2 separate regions of the Homo sapiens genome follow, and region 2 is linked to region 1. The links are contacts of gene promoters, found by promoter capture Hi-C in blood cells and fetal thymus (Javierre and others, 2016). All regions are on one chromosome and are shown on one strand. The core of a region is centred on a gene start or on the middle of the fragment in contact, and the rest is flanking DNA. Distances in the headings are between cores, read along the strand shown.

Region 1 (6,198 bases), core at 924-3,423:
GAACATATACATTTGAGTCAAAATAAAATGACTAAAGTATATATTTGCCATTTTTAAATATGTACCACTGTAACTGACTTTTTAAATTAACTGGTCCAGTGGTCCCAATTTTAGGGGAAGAGAGTGCCTCTACCATTGTTTTAATTGAAAAACTGATATACATGGTAAAGATATTCCAATAGTACAAAACACTACACATCAAGAAAGTTTCCCTTCTGTATTAGTCTTCTAGGGCTGCTATAATGAAATACCATGGACTAGGTGGCTTAACTACAGAAATTTATTTTCTCACAGTCCTAGAGGCTAAAAGTCCAGGATCAAGGAGTCATCAGGGTTGGCTTATGGTGTGGCCTCTCTTTCTGGACTGCAAATGGCCATCTTCTGTGTTCTCATATGGCCTCTTCTCTGTGCCCATGCACTCAGACACTAGCCCTACAGGATTAGGGTTTTGCCTTTTTGATTTCATTTAACCTTAATTATTGTCCTAAAGGCCCTATCTCCAAATCTAGTCACACTGGAAGTTAAGACTTCAACATATGAATTTTGAGGGGACATAATTCAGTCCATAACACTTTCCATGCCAGATTCACAGTCCTCCTGGTGTGTGTGTGTGTGTGTGTGTGTGTGTGTGTGTGATGCTCAAATGGAAGTAGAGTCTACACACTATTTTGCACCTTACTTTTCTCACCTTATAGCATCATAGAGGTATTCCATGTCAGCACATATAGATCTATCTAGTTCATTTTAATGGCTGCATACTATTCTATTGAATGGCTAGACTATGACTCATTTCAGCAATTTCCTATTGCTGAACATTTAGAGTTTTTTTTTTCACTCTGTTACAAAAATCCTGTAACAGATATTTTTATAGAATACTTTTATATACAACCTGTATACCCATGGGATAAATTTTAGAAGTAAAATTATTAGATCAAAAAGAACTTCATATAAAATTTTGATACATATAATTACCATGAAATTTTTAAAAATGCACCAATTTTTATACTCTTACTGTTTAAGAATGCTTGTTCCTCCCACGCTGCTCCCATACCACACATACACACACCCAATATTGTAGTATCAAATTTTTTTTATTTTTGCTATTGAGCTAACACAAAAGATCAAACTGTCAAATCAGGCTCAAATCAGAGATTTTACTCAGTATCAAGCTTTACTAATAGTTTCAAGGATACCAGTAATCCCCAGGTCCTTTCTTCTTGCTTTGGATGCATCCTGGCCCAGGACAGTAGATGTGGTTTCTAAATCAAGTGTACAGTCACCCCACTTACACAGAAGGAGCCAAATCAGTTACAAAACACTTCCATTTTATGCTACGTTACATAACTTCCGCGGTATTTTCCAGTTAATCATACCCCTGAAATCCGCATTGATTCTTTTTTGTTTTGTGAGAGGGAGTCTCATTCTGTTGACCAGGATGGAGGGCGGTGGCGCGATCTCTGCTCACTGCAACCTCCGCATCTCCAGTGCAAGCTATTCTTCTGCCTCAGCCTCCTGAGTAGCTGGTGTTACAAGTGTACACCACCACACTCAGCTAATTTTTGTAGTTTTGGTAGAGACGGGGTTTTGCCATGTTGGCCAGGCTGGTAACTCCTGACCTCAAGTGATCCACCTGCCTCAGCCTCCCAAAGTGCTGGAATTACCACATCGATTCTTAATGTGTTTACCATAAACAATCCCAGCCCTGGGACATCCTGTTAGAGGAATTCCGTAAATATGGACTCTCTTGCTAGCAAATGCCATTAGTTTGTTTGCCAGGAGGTCTGTAATTAGTATATACTTTATATTTTATAAAAATCACATGCTTTTTTGCTTGCTTTAACCTTGCTTTCCTGAGAGTATTTCCCTACGAAGGGAGAGACTGGATTGCAGATCTTCTGCTCAACTCCTTCTTTCTCAGTCACTGATAGATGAAAAATGGTATTTCCTTGTTCACTTTTACATTTTAAGTAATGTTGAACATTTAGCAACAAAATATTGAAAGCTAGAAGGGAGATGAATCAAGATGCAATTGCCTTAGCAGACTTGAAAAGTAGGAATCCCAAGCAGGCCATGAAGCAACCTGATACACACAGTGAAACCCTGTATAAGGCTCAGGAATTGGAAACACCACGTAAAGCTGAAGAGAGCATGATGTGAGCTATAAATACAGGCGGAATGGTATAAAGTCTGTTTAAGAATGAATCAGATGCTGAGATTCCCTTTGCTATCCCATCAAAAACCCAGAGATTTAGTCCTGAAAGACAGCAAAACGCTGATTCTCTAGCTAGGAGGACAGCAGGCCCTCTTAAGGATGAAGGTGTCATGTTGAAAAAGGGGAAAAGAAAATTAGAGGACTAACATCTGAATAACTGAAGCTCACTAAAAAGAAAATGGAGGAAATAAGTAACTCAAGTTGCTTGGAGTTCTGACTCTAAGCTCAGTGCTATTATAATCTTTTAGGCTTACTGGTATATTTGATTCATGTTAACTGTAAAATGACATTTTCTAAGTTTCACAAATATTGGGGTTAGTCAAAGGGACTTTGTTCAGGTGATTAAGGGTGGGGCTTGCATTACCCCTCTCCTAAGCGATCATTCCAAAATGACTGGCAGGACTAAAGAATTATGTTTAAAAAACAAAAAAACCCAAAGAATGGATTATCTGTAAAAGCTATGCAATGACGTGCCTGTTAGAGCTCACTGACCACACCTTAAGTTGTCTAAGAGATGAGGCTATAACTAGCTAAACTCTAATTGGCTAAGGCACCAAAGCCAGAAAATAGCCCATAACATGCAAATATACAGACATAAAATCAACTGTAAGTGCTGGGCACAGCTGCTCATGCCTGTAATCCCAGCTACTTGGGAGGCAGAGGCAGGAAGATCACTTTAGCTCAGGAGTTCAGAGCTGCTGTGCGCTATGATTGTGTCACTGCACTCCAGCCTGGGGGAAGAAGTGAGACTTCATCTCAAAAAAAAAAAAAAGATCAGCTGTAGAAGAAAAAATAATGTCAGGGTTACCTGTGGAGTCTGGGGGTAGACCCACTATCACACCTAGACAGGGATACAAACCATGAGAGGCTTCTCTTCTAAGTGGGCCGTTTCAGTCCAAGTTGCTGACTTGGACAGCAACTTGGACTGAATAAACACAGGCAACTGAGTTTAGCATTAAGCTTTCAGAACCTTCAACTGACAACTCAACGGCTGTTTCTAAATCTCAGAACATTTAAATCAGAATCTAGGTAGCACGTGGGCACCTACGTAGTTTTAAAAGCTTTCCAAGTGATTCAACTCCAAGTGAATCAGAGTGGAGCATCGTTGCCTTAGTCATGGCATCTTTCAAATTCGTTAGTACATTTTTACATAAAAATAAACATCAAACAAAAGAAGAACAACTTTTTGGTAAGAGGGTGTCTATTCTTTCCTTTCCTTTAGTGTCCGCAGATCTTTCCTCCTGCTGTTTTCTTGTCTACTCTTGTTCTTGAACACCCCCTCTTATTTTTATGTCTTTAGAAAGTGCCTGGCACAGTATTTCAGACAGTTAAAATACTGTATCAACAAAGGACCCATAGATACTGTATTAATTTTAAAAGATGTGTAGTGAATATGATTCAATGAGTAAAATAATCCAGCTGGGGCGTGGGAGGAACGGATAATAAAACAAATAAGAGAACGGAAAAACAAAATTAGGAATTGTTTCTGGTAGACAGCTACTGCGGGCGTGGAGATCTAAACATGATACCAAATTGGGCGGAGGGGGAGGGAGTGAGGAAGGAATGGGCAGAGTGGCGGAATGGCCTGGCGAGGGCGATTTCCTGAAGGCTTTCAGGTTACAACTAAGGGATACCGGGAAAAGAACACCGAGCCCTCGTCCCGTATCTATCTAAACTAGCCGTGTTAACTTTAAGTCAATCTCCTCTCTGAACCAGATATTCCTCCTATCTAAAGGGAGGAGCCTGGCCTTAACATCTCTTTCCAAGTCTAGCTCTAATTCTGTAAACAGGGGATCAAACAGATCTCCTTTCTTCAGAAAAGGCCCCAGACGAACCCGAAGCAGGTCCTCGAGCTGCGAGCCACTCTCCACTTGCCACTCAACGTAGTCAGCCAGAGGGACGGATGTGCCACCAAGCACCACCTTCTTTCTAACGCCTCATCACCCCAGCCACGCACTCCGGCGCGGCGCCCAGTCCCGAGCGGTTCTCGGAAGTTTCCCACTCCTCCCCTAATCGCCCTCCACGCACGCCGGATCACGACCGGAACGTGGACAACCAGTGGTTGTTCCTCCCCTAAAGCACAGCATAAATTTGGAGAGATGCATCTAAACTGCGTGTGGGTTCGGGCTCTTTTAGGTGAATAGGGCTCGGCGGATCGACTTCCTCGATTATCTCCGTGCCCTGGACCCGCCCCCTCCGCCTGGCGCCAGGCCGCCGAGCGCCGATCGGCTCGATGAGCGGAGGCGCTGCTGCGGCGCTGCGGCCGACGCCGGGTCCGCACCAACTGTCTCCCCCTCCCAGCTTCTTACCTCGGCTTCCTACTCCTTCCCCCGCCCGCCCAGCACCGCCAGCCCGGGAGAGCTGCCGGGAGTTCCCCGGGAGCCTCAGGTACTGGCGCTGGCCTGTTCGCAGCGGGAGGGGCTGGTGTGAGGAGGAAGGAAACGAAGAAGACGCCCCTGCCTTGCCGCCCCCCGACGTCCTAGTCGGGCTGGTCGGCGGGCCTCGGGGATCTAGGAAGGGACCCCGGAGTGGGAAAAGGTTGGGGCCGGGGGTGCCGTGAGGAAGGAAGACGAGGACAGGGGTATGCGGACGAGGAGCAGTTGAGGGAGAGAAGAATTGGAATTGAGGGGTACTCTGGGGTGATGGGAAGAGAACAGTACCATGGATGGGGAAGGTTTGTTAAGAGTGGGATGTAGTGAGGAATTCCAGGGGGTACAATGGGGCAGGAAGGGCCAGCGTTAGGAGCAGATATATCGTGGGACGTGGCCTGGTGTGACAGATTGGGTGTGGGGGGTGAACGGAGCTGCCTGAAATTGTGTATTTAAAGGGCCCGGGGGAAAGAGCGCCAACCCTGCTGTGTTTATAATGACCGGAAGGTGGGGGTGAATCGTTACACTTGACAGGTTTTGCAAATAATATCTCCGGTCTGTGTCCATCCAAGTCACTTTATTTCTGTGAAACTGCATCAAGCAAGAAGGCTGATGACAGACAAGGAAGACGAATCAGAAAGAGAATGGAGGCTGGGAAAAGGAGAGCCTTTGCCCAGATTCAAAGCTATTGACTAGATAACGTACTACTTACAAAAACGCACACATAGACATTTAAGTATATGCTGATGTATAAGAAGCATACGGTGATGTGACTCATTTGAGTGAATTGTATAGTGGTGGTCTATCCTCAATGTGGAAGTACATGATGGCTCTCTTATTTACATGTATACCTAGTCACAAACAGCTGAATTCACATGTCTTTTTTTGTAGGAGAAATCTTAGGCAGACTATATCCTAGTCTACTTTCTGAGCATGATTTATTTCTACTAGTTGTTTGATACACATATCAGTTACTAATAATCAGTTGCAAATAACATCAAAGTTCATCAAGGTAGCTAATTAATCTGCCTACTGCTTTGCTGATGGGCTATTTGTTGCACATGGTTTCTTGGGATTAAGAGACCTGAATATGGTGTTTGCTCATCCTTAAGATTGTAGTTTTACTGTATGTCTTATAAAGGCATTATATAAGTCTGCCCGTTGTTTGCTTTGGGATGTTGAGGCAGCCTCATTGCAGGGGTTAAAATCTAAATACAGATAATAGTTAAAAGCACAAGTTCTTCAGTAATTTGCCTTGTCATCTGTTTTTCCATGCATTCTGTTACATTTCTGCATGAATGAAGTATTCTGACATCAAAGTATGAGGAATAAAAGGGCCAGATGTATGTGACAGAAATATTGTGGAACCAAGAACTCAAGAGCTGTTACTCAGGCAGCAAGAATTTGGTTTTTGTTACAAGTGAATAATTTCTGATTTGGAAGCATTTCTTATCAAAGAAAAGTGTGTCCTTTGGTTTTGACAAGCAGCTGACTTAAAACATTACTTTTATTTGGTTCGTGAAGCCAGATCCTGGGATTATTCTTTTTTAAGTGTATATCATTAACAAACAAACTGATGTCTAACTATACCTAATTTAAAGGTCTAAGTGTTTCTTC
Region 2 (6,109 bases), core at 1,388-3,887, 2.1 Mb before region 1:
CCTCAGCCACATTAATTTTGAAATGAATGCCCTCCAGGATCTGTGTACATTTGTCTATAATATGCTGCATTTGCAGAAAACTGGCAGCTGTTAGGTAGCTGATGATATCTGCCAGTTGCAGGCATATCCGCCCTGTGTAACAGAAAGAAAGGAGCTGTTCAAAAACAGTAGGGTTCTTGATGACTGAAATGGAGACTGTACTCATCTCATTCAAGGACATGTGATCCCGGAAATAGGGGGAGCTGGCAGCCAGCACCACTTTGTGAGCCCGAAAAGCTTGTCCTTGCACATTGACCACAATATCACAGAGACGGCCCTGCATGCGCAACTGGTTTAGATGGCTCAGGACAGAGTTGCTGAAGTCAGGAATCTCCAATTGTATGTTCCCACCTTTCTCCATGGTCGTGCCTGAGGGTGCATTCAACCCTGCTGAAAAAAGAAACCATATTCTCATTAATAATTATAATTTTACTTCCCGGATGGTTTCCATTTCAAAAGTATTTAAACATAGTTATCTGGTAAAGTTTCAAAATCTCCAGATAAAAGAAATACCTTCCTTATATTTAGATGTGGAAACAGAATCACCAACAGGTTTTTCAGTTTAAGTTTCACAGGAGGACATAGTTAAAACTAAAAAGTGATCTTTAGACTCCTAAAAATTCATGTTATGACCATGCTTTCCTTACTAATAAGTTATATAACATCAAAACAGAAGTTCAACAGAAGGTAGGGGGAAGGACTTTTAAGTGTTAACTATAAGGTACTTGCAGACTGAATATAACATCTCATAACTTTACAACTTTTCTCTGGAGGAGGAAAGCTTTCTGAATAAATGCAATTCTACATAGCTTGATATCCCTCTTCTTAGTATTTTACTACCTGCTGCAAGAATTATGTTTATTATTTTATAAAAGGACTAATATCCCACATGAATGTAGGCTAATATTTCTAAGCTTAAGAATCAGAGCCCCCCCCACAAAAAGACTTTGGTTATAGGGCTGTGAAGCAAACTCTAGGAAAAATCCCACAGCTGTGCCAGGATTCAACCAAGATGCAGAGAATGTGAAGTTCAGTTGTCAAAATTAGGAAAGCTGGGTAAATCTGCCAAATTCGAAGTTGGCAATTCCGAGGTGGTGATGAATACTTCCATCCTGAAACTTAGTTCTCCAGATCCGATGAAAAAATACAGCATTTACCAAGTATGCCAACATTTTTCCATTAAAATATTTTTAAAAAATGGCTGAAACACTAAACCTGAAGCTGTATACAAGATAGTTGAAAGTACAGTTTCAACTACTGAAAATAGTTTGTATAAATCCGAACAGGAAGACATTTACTTAAGCCCAATGTGCGTTCACTTATCTATATATTACATAGTTACACCACACCTGAAACTTCAGGAACTTACTCTGCCAAGCTCACAGTACTGCCCCGCATTAACAACACACTTATTAAATAGGGAAGTGTATACACTGTTTTCAACAATCAACTTTAGCCAATCTGACCTTTTTCCAAAGCGTTATTGTTTGTTTTGAAACTTTTAATCCAATAAGAGCCTCTGTCGATGCCATCATGAATTCAGATGTGTTTATTTTGGAGCCTACACCAGCGCCTTTTTTGTTTGCTCTTTCCGGCAATTCCCCAGTGAGGAAGCCCCTGGAGGAAAGTCTTTCGCTACCGTCGGCACTGGAGGGGTGAGAGCTGTAAAAGGGAGAATTGGGAACGGCATGGGGTTGGCCACTCCAGCACTTGAGCAGCTTTCTTCTGCGTTAGGAAGCCTGGGGAGAGGGGAACTGGCTAAAGGGCAAAATGTCACTGAGGAACTTCGGAGAAGATGGGGACAAGGCGTCGGGCGGGGGAGCCAGCGCTCAGGTGAGAACTAGGAAGGGGGCGGCGCCCAGGGACCGGCTCCAGGCGGCGGCGGGCGGGGAGCTGCCAGGAGGTGGGTGTGCGTATCTGGGTGTGTCCCGGCTGCGGTGGGGGAGGGGGCCGCCCTTCCCGGGGTCCTGAGGGAGGGGCCCCGCGAGGGGGCGGGTCCGGCAGATCAGCCCGGCCGGGGGCCAAGGGGGTGGAAGGTCGCCCGGTGCCTGGAGGCGGGGTGAAGGAAAGTAGCTGAGCGCCCCAGGAGCGCGCTGCGGCGGAGGGCGGGCGAGGTGACCCCGGTGCAGGGAAGTGGCACTGGGGTGTGGGGCCCGAGTCCAGTCAAGGAGCAGCACCTACCTCCGGGGGTGGAAATGGGCCGGAATGGGCCGGAACACCGTCCCGGAAGTGAAATCCCCCACCCCCTCCCACGGAGCGGGCGACGTGCCGGAAGGAAATCACTCAGCCTTACACCGCCCCCCCTTCCCCCATCCCCAGAGCTTTCCTTGCCTCGCGCCCCCTCCCCTCTCTGCTCTTCCTCCTCAGTCGGGAGGAGGGCGGGAGCACGGCATCACGTGGACGGTCATGTCTCTGCCCACAATGGCGAGGAAGGGCGGGGAAAAGGGGCGGACTTAAGGGGTGGGAAGAAGGTGATACTGGATGAGAGGAAGATTGAGGGAGGTTAGGGGGAGGAGCCGAAGCGGACGCTGCCGGGAGCGTGCGTCGTGACGTCATCAAAAGAACTCTTATATACAGGAGCCCAGGCACCATACTGTCTTTTCGAGGTAGGAGTCGACTCCTGTGAGGTATGTTTTATCTTTGCGAATGTTGCGGGTTTTGGGGCGCTCCAGCCTTTGTCTGCTAAGGTCACCCTGAATTGACTGGGACTTCTAAGCCAGTCGCGCGCCTTTGCAGGGCCTACAAGTTGAGGATGGTGGGGGATTGCACATATGGTGCATGCGTGACCTAAGCTGCGACTATGTTAGAGTAGAACTGCGGAGAAGCCTCGGCTCTCGTGCCCTGCCTCTGATGAAGCCTGTGTTGGTAGGGACATCTGAGAGTAATGATGAATGCCAACCGCTCTGATGGTGGCACATGCCGAGTCACCCGAGTAAGCTATTGTTAAGGGCCGTGACCCGAGCCTCCATCAGCCGTCCGCTCTCATGAAAGGCTGTCGGTGGTAGTCCACGTGCTTAAGTGCCTGCATTCCGCAGTGTCACCAATATTTCCATTAGTGTTTCTTTTTTCTTTTTTGAGACCGAGCCTCGTTCTGTCACCCAGGCTGGAATGCAGTGGCTCGACATCGGTTAATGGCAACCTCCGCGTCCCGAGTTAAGCAGTTCTGCCTCAGCCTCCCAAGTAACTGGGACTACAGGCGCGCGCCACCATGCTAGGCTTTTATATTTTTAGTAGAGACGGGGTTTCACCATGTTGGCGAGACTGGTCTTGAACTCCTGACCTCAGGTGATCCACCAGCCGTGGTCCCCCAACATACTGGGATTACAAGCCGTGAGCCACCGCGCCCGGCCGCCATCGGTGGTTCTTAACTGCGGGTGCAGTGCTTCTTTGTAACATTAAGTGTATCCTTTACCTGTCGCTAGATAATGAATGGTATGTTACCTGCATCATTGGTTTAAAAAGACGAACCGTTTTTTTAAAGAACACTCTTTAAAAAAAAGAACCGTGGAACAATGAATTAAAATCTGTACCTGATCTCTTTAGGTATGGTGCTGGGTGCAGATGCAGTGTGGCTCTGGATAGCACCTTATGGACAGGTAAGAATTGGGGAAAGTATGGTGGGAAGAATGAAATCTAAGAGGTGGTCTCAGCCTGTGATGCTTTAAGAGTAGTGGACAGAAGGGATTTCTGAAATTCTATTCTGAGGCTTTAATGTTAACAGCATTTATATTTAACGTGACTGCTGTGAGGTTCATTCTCACTGTTTTGCTTGCATCTTTTTGTTTTCTAGTTGTGTCCCCAAGGAAGGATGAGAATAGCTACTGAAGTAAGTTGAAAATTCCCTCTCAAAAAGGTTTAAAGCCATTGGATGTGCCACAATGATGACAGTTTATTTGCTACTCTTGAGTGCTAGAATGATGAGGATCTTAACCACCATTATCTTAACTGAGGCACCCAAAATGGTGAGTTGGGGAACATAGAGAGTACACCTAAGTTCACATGAAGTTGTTTCTTCCCAGGTCCTAAAGAGCAAGCCTAACTCAAGCCATTGGCACACAGGTGAGACACCTCTATTTTGTACTTCTCACTTTTAAGGGATTAGAAAATAGCCAAAGCAATGATGATTATCTATGTTAGTGCTTCTCTCCCCTCTTTTCAAATGAGAATTTTGCTCTCATATTGATACTAAGTTTAATACTGAAGAAAATGTGAAAACAGATACTATGATGGTTGCATAGTTCAGCAGATTTAATCATGAAGAGATGTACTATCTGTCTGATGTATCTGGGGTAGTTGTGGTTTGCTGTTAATGGTTAAGCAGTGTACCACCAATCTACCATTAAAATATTTTTTGCTGACAATTTTGTATTAAAATTACAGGCATTAGACAGAAAGCTGGAAGTTGAAATGGTAAGTGAAACTGTATCCAAGTAAGCAGGTAACTGGGCAAACTTCCTACGGCACAAATGGCTTTTTAGTTACCTCCTAGTGCTGAATGCATTAAATAAATGGCGGATTCTTGTCTTGTTATGATTAATAAGAAAGTTTGTAAATGCAGCCTGGATGATGATAAGCAAATGCTGACTGAACATGAAGGTCTTAATTAGCTCTAACTGACTAAAGGCATTTGTTAGTTTTGGCAGGGGGTGAACACTCATCTGTGGCTATTCTAAGACCACTCTTATTTCTTAGGTGGAGTCCAACTTGCCTGGACCAGCTTAATGGTTCTGGTAAGTATTAATGAAAACAGTAGATAGACTTAATGAAAATGCTGATGGTGATATGCTTACTGCTGAGCTAATGGCTTAAGGCTTGGCTGATGAATACTGACTGTATTTTCCTTGAGCATGTCTGGAACAGTGTTTATGTGTTTTCCTTGAGCATGTTTGGAACGGGGTTTGTGTAATGATGTTGATCAAATGTCTGACCTGAAATGAGCATGTAGACAAAGGTAACACTGAAGAACCCTGTGACAGACAACTTTGAAAAGAGTTTAATGATGTTTAGCATTTTAATGGAAGTCCTCATTTGTATTCCAGCTCCTGGTAACGTTTTTATCCATGGATGACTTGCTTGGGTAAGGACATGAAGACAGTTCCTGTCATACCTTTTAAAGGTACATGTTTTATTGATGTTAACGTTAATTGATTGAGCTACTGTTAGTGATGATTTTAAAATTAAAGCAGATGGGAATCTCTCTGAGAAAGAAAATGGAGATTAATCTTAAACTGAAACAGTAGTTGGGAAATCTTTTAGAAATCCACCTATTACTACCTATTGGTAAAGGAGATTAAATTTCTACAGGTATGGAGAGTCGGCTTGACTACACTGTGTGGAGCAAGTTTTAAAGAAGCAAAGGTATAGCAGTTCCAAGTATTTTTTTTTTTTTTTTAGACAAGAGTCTAGCTCTTGCCCAGAATGGAGTGCAGCGGCACTATCAGTTCACTGCAACCTCTGCCTCCCAGGTTCAAGGAATTCTCCTGCCTCAGCCTCTTGAGTAGCTGGGATTACAGGCATGTGACACCATGCCTGGCTAATTTTGTACAGCTATGTTGTCCAGGCTGGTCTCGAACTCTTGACCTCAAGTGATACTGCCCGCACTGACCTCCCAAAGTGCTGGGATTACAGGCGTGAGCCACCATGCCCCGCCTCAAGTCTGGTTTTTAAGTGTTGTAAAGCCGATACAATGATGATAACATAGTTCAGCAGACTAACGCTGATGAGCAATATTAAGTCTTTCGCTCCTATCTGATGTATCTGGCGGTAACATTCTAGTTTATGCCCCGAAAAGGGGAATATAGCCATTCTATAATGTTTGGAGATTTTGGATTACTCCTAATTGTATGCAAGTTGTCTTACTGTGTATTGTCCCTTAATTTCAGGACTCAGAATTCATGATTGAAGAAATGCAGGTTAGTTTAAACTTTGAAGGAAATTTTTAAGGTGGCAAAAGGTTTTGGTGGCATATACACCTTAATCTGTAGATGGGAGTGATTAGCTGTTTAAAAGTTAAAATGTGACTGAGAAGGAAATTGAGTAGGGCAAATTTTAAATGGGTATTATTTTTCAT

What was found. The method cuts DNA at HindIII sites, captures the fragments that hold promoters and counts their contacts. A CHiCAGO score of 5 or more calls a contact.
Region 2: the fragment with the promoter of GAS5 here is called in contact with a fragment that was not itself captured in region 1 in 1 of 17 cell types (non-activated CD4 T cells); the score reaches 5.8 in non-activated CD4 T cells.

Annotation. Positions count from the first base shown.
Region 1 is chr1:171,740,312-171,746,509 of GRCh38, reverse strand. VAMP4 (vesicle associated membrane protein 4) reads left to right here and starts at 4,445. Exons shown (of 8, transcript NM_003762.5): 1 at 4,445-4,600. The HindIII fragment of the contact is 2,003 bases long and covers 1,172-3,174 here.
Region 2 is chr1:173,864,517-173,870,625 of GRCh38, reverse strand. GAS5 (growth arrest specific 5) reads left to right here and starts at 2,637. Exons shown (of 12, transcript NR_002578.4): 1 at 2,637-2,666; 2 at 3,583-3,635; 3 at 3,830-3,865; 4 at 4,059-4,098; 5 at 4,420-4,449; 6 at 4,732-4,769; 7 at 5,079-5,155; 8 at 5,344-5,397; 9 at 5,922-5,951. ZBTB37 (zinc finger and BTB domain containing 37) reads right to left here and starts at 2,246. Exons shown (of 5, transcript NM_001122770.3): 1 at 2,221-2,246; 2 at 1,506-1,701; 3 at 1-426. The coding sequence starts at 400. It overlaps SNORD75 (small nucleolar RNA, C/D box 75), which reads left to right and starts at 3,688; the gene lies at 3,688-3,747. It overlaps SNORD74 (small nucleolar RNA, C/D box 74), which reads left to right and starts at 2,881; the gene lies at 2,881-2,952. It also overlaps SNORD80, SNORD79, SNORD78, SNORD44, SNORA103 and SNORD77, and 1 more gene. RefSeq lists enhancers at 354-453, 968-2,167 and a silencer at 1,802-2,211. The HindIII fragment of the contact is 5,638 bases long and covers 956-6,109 here.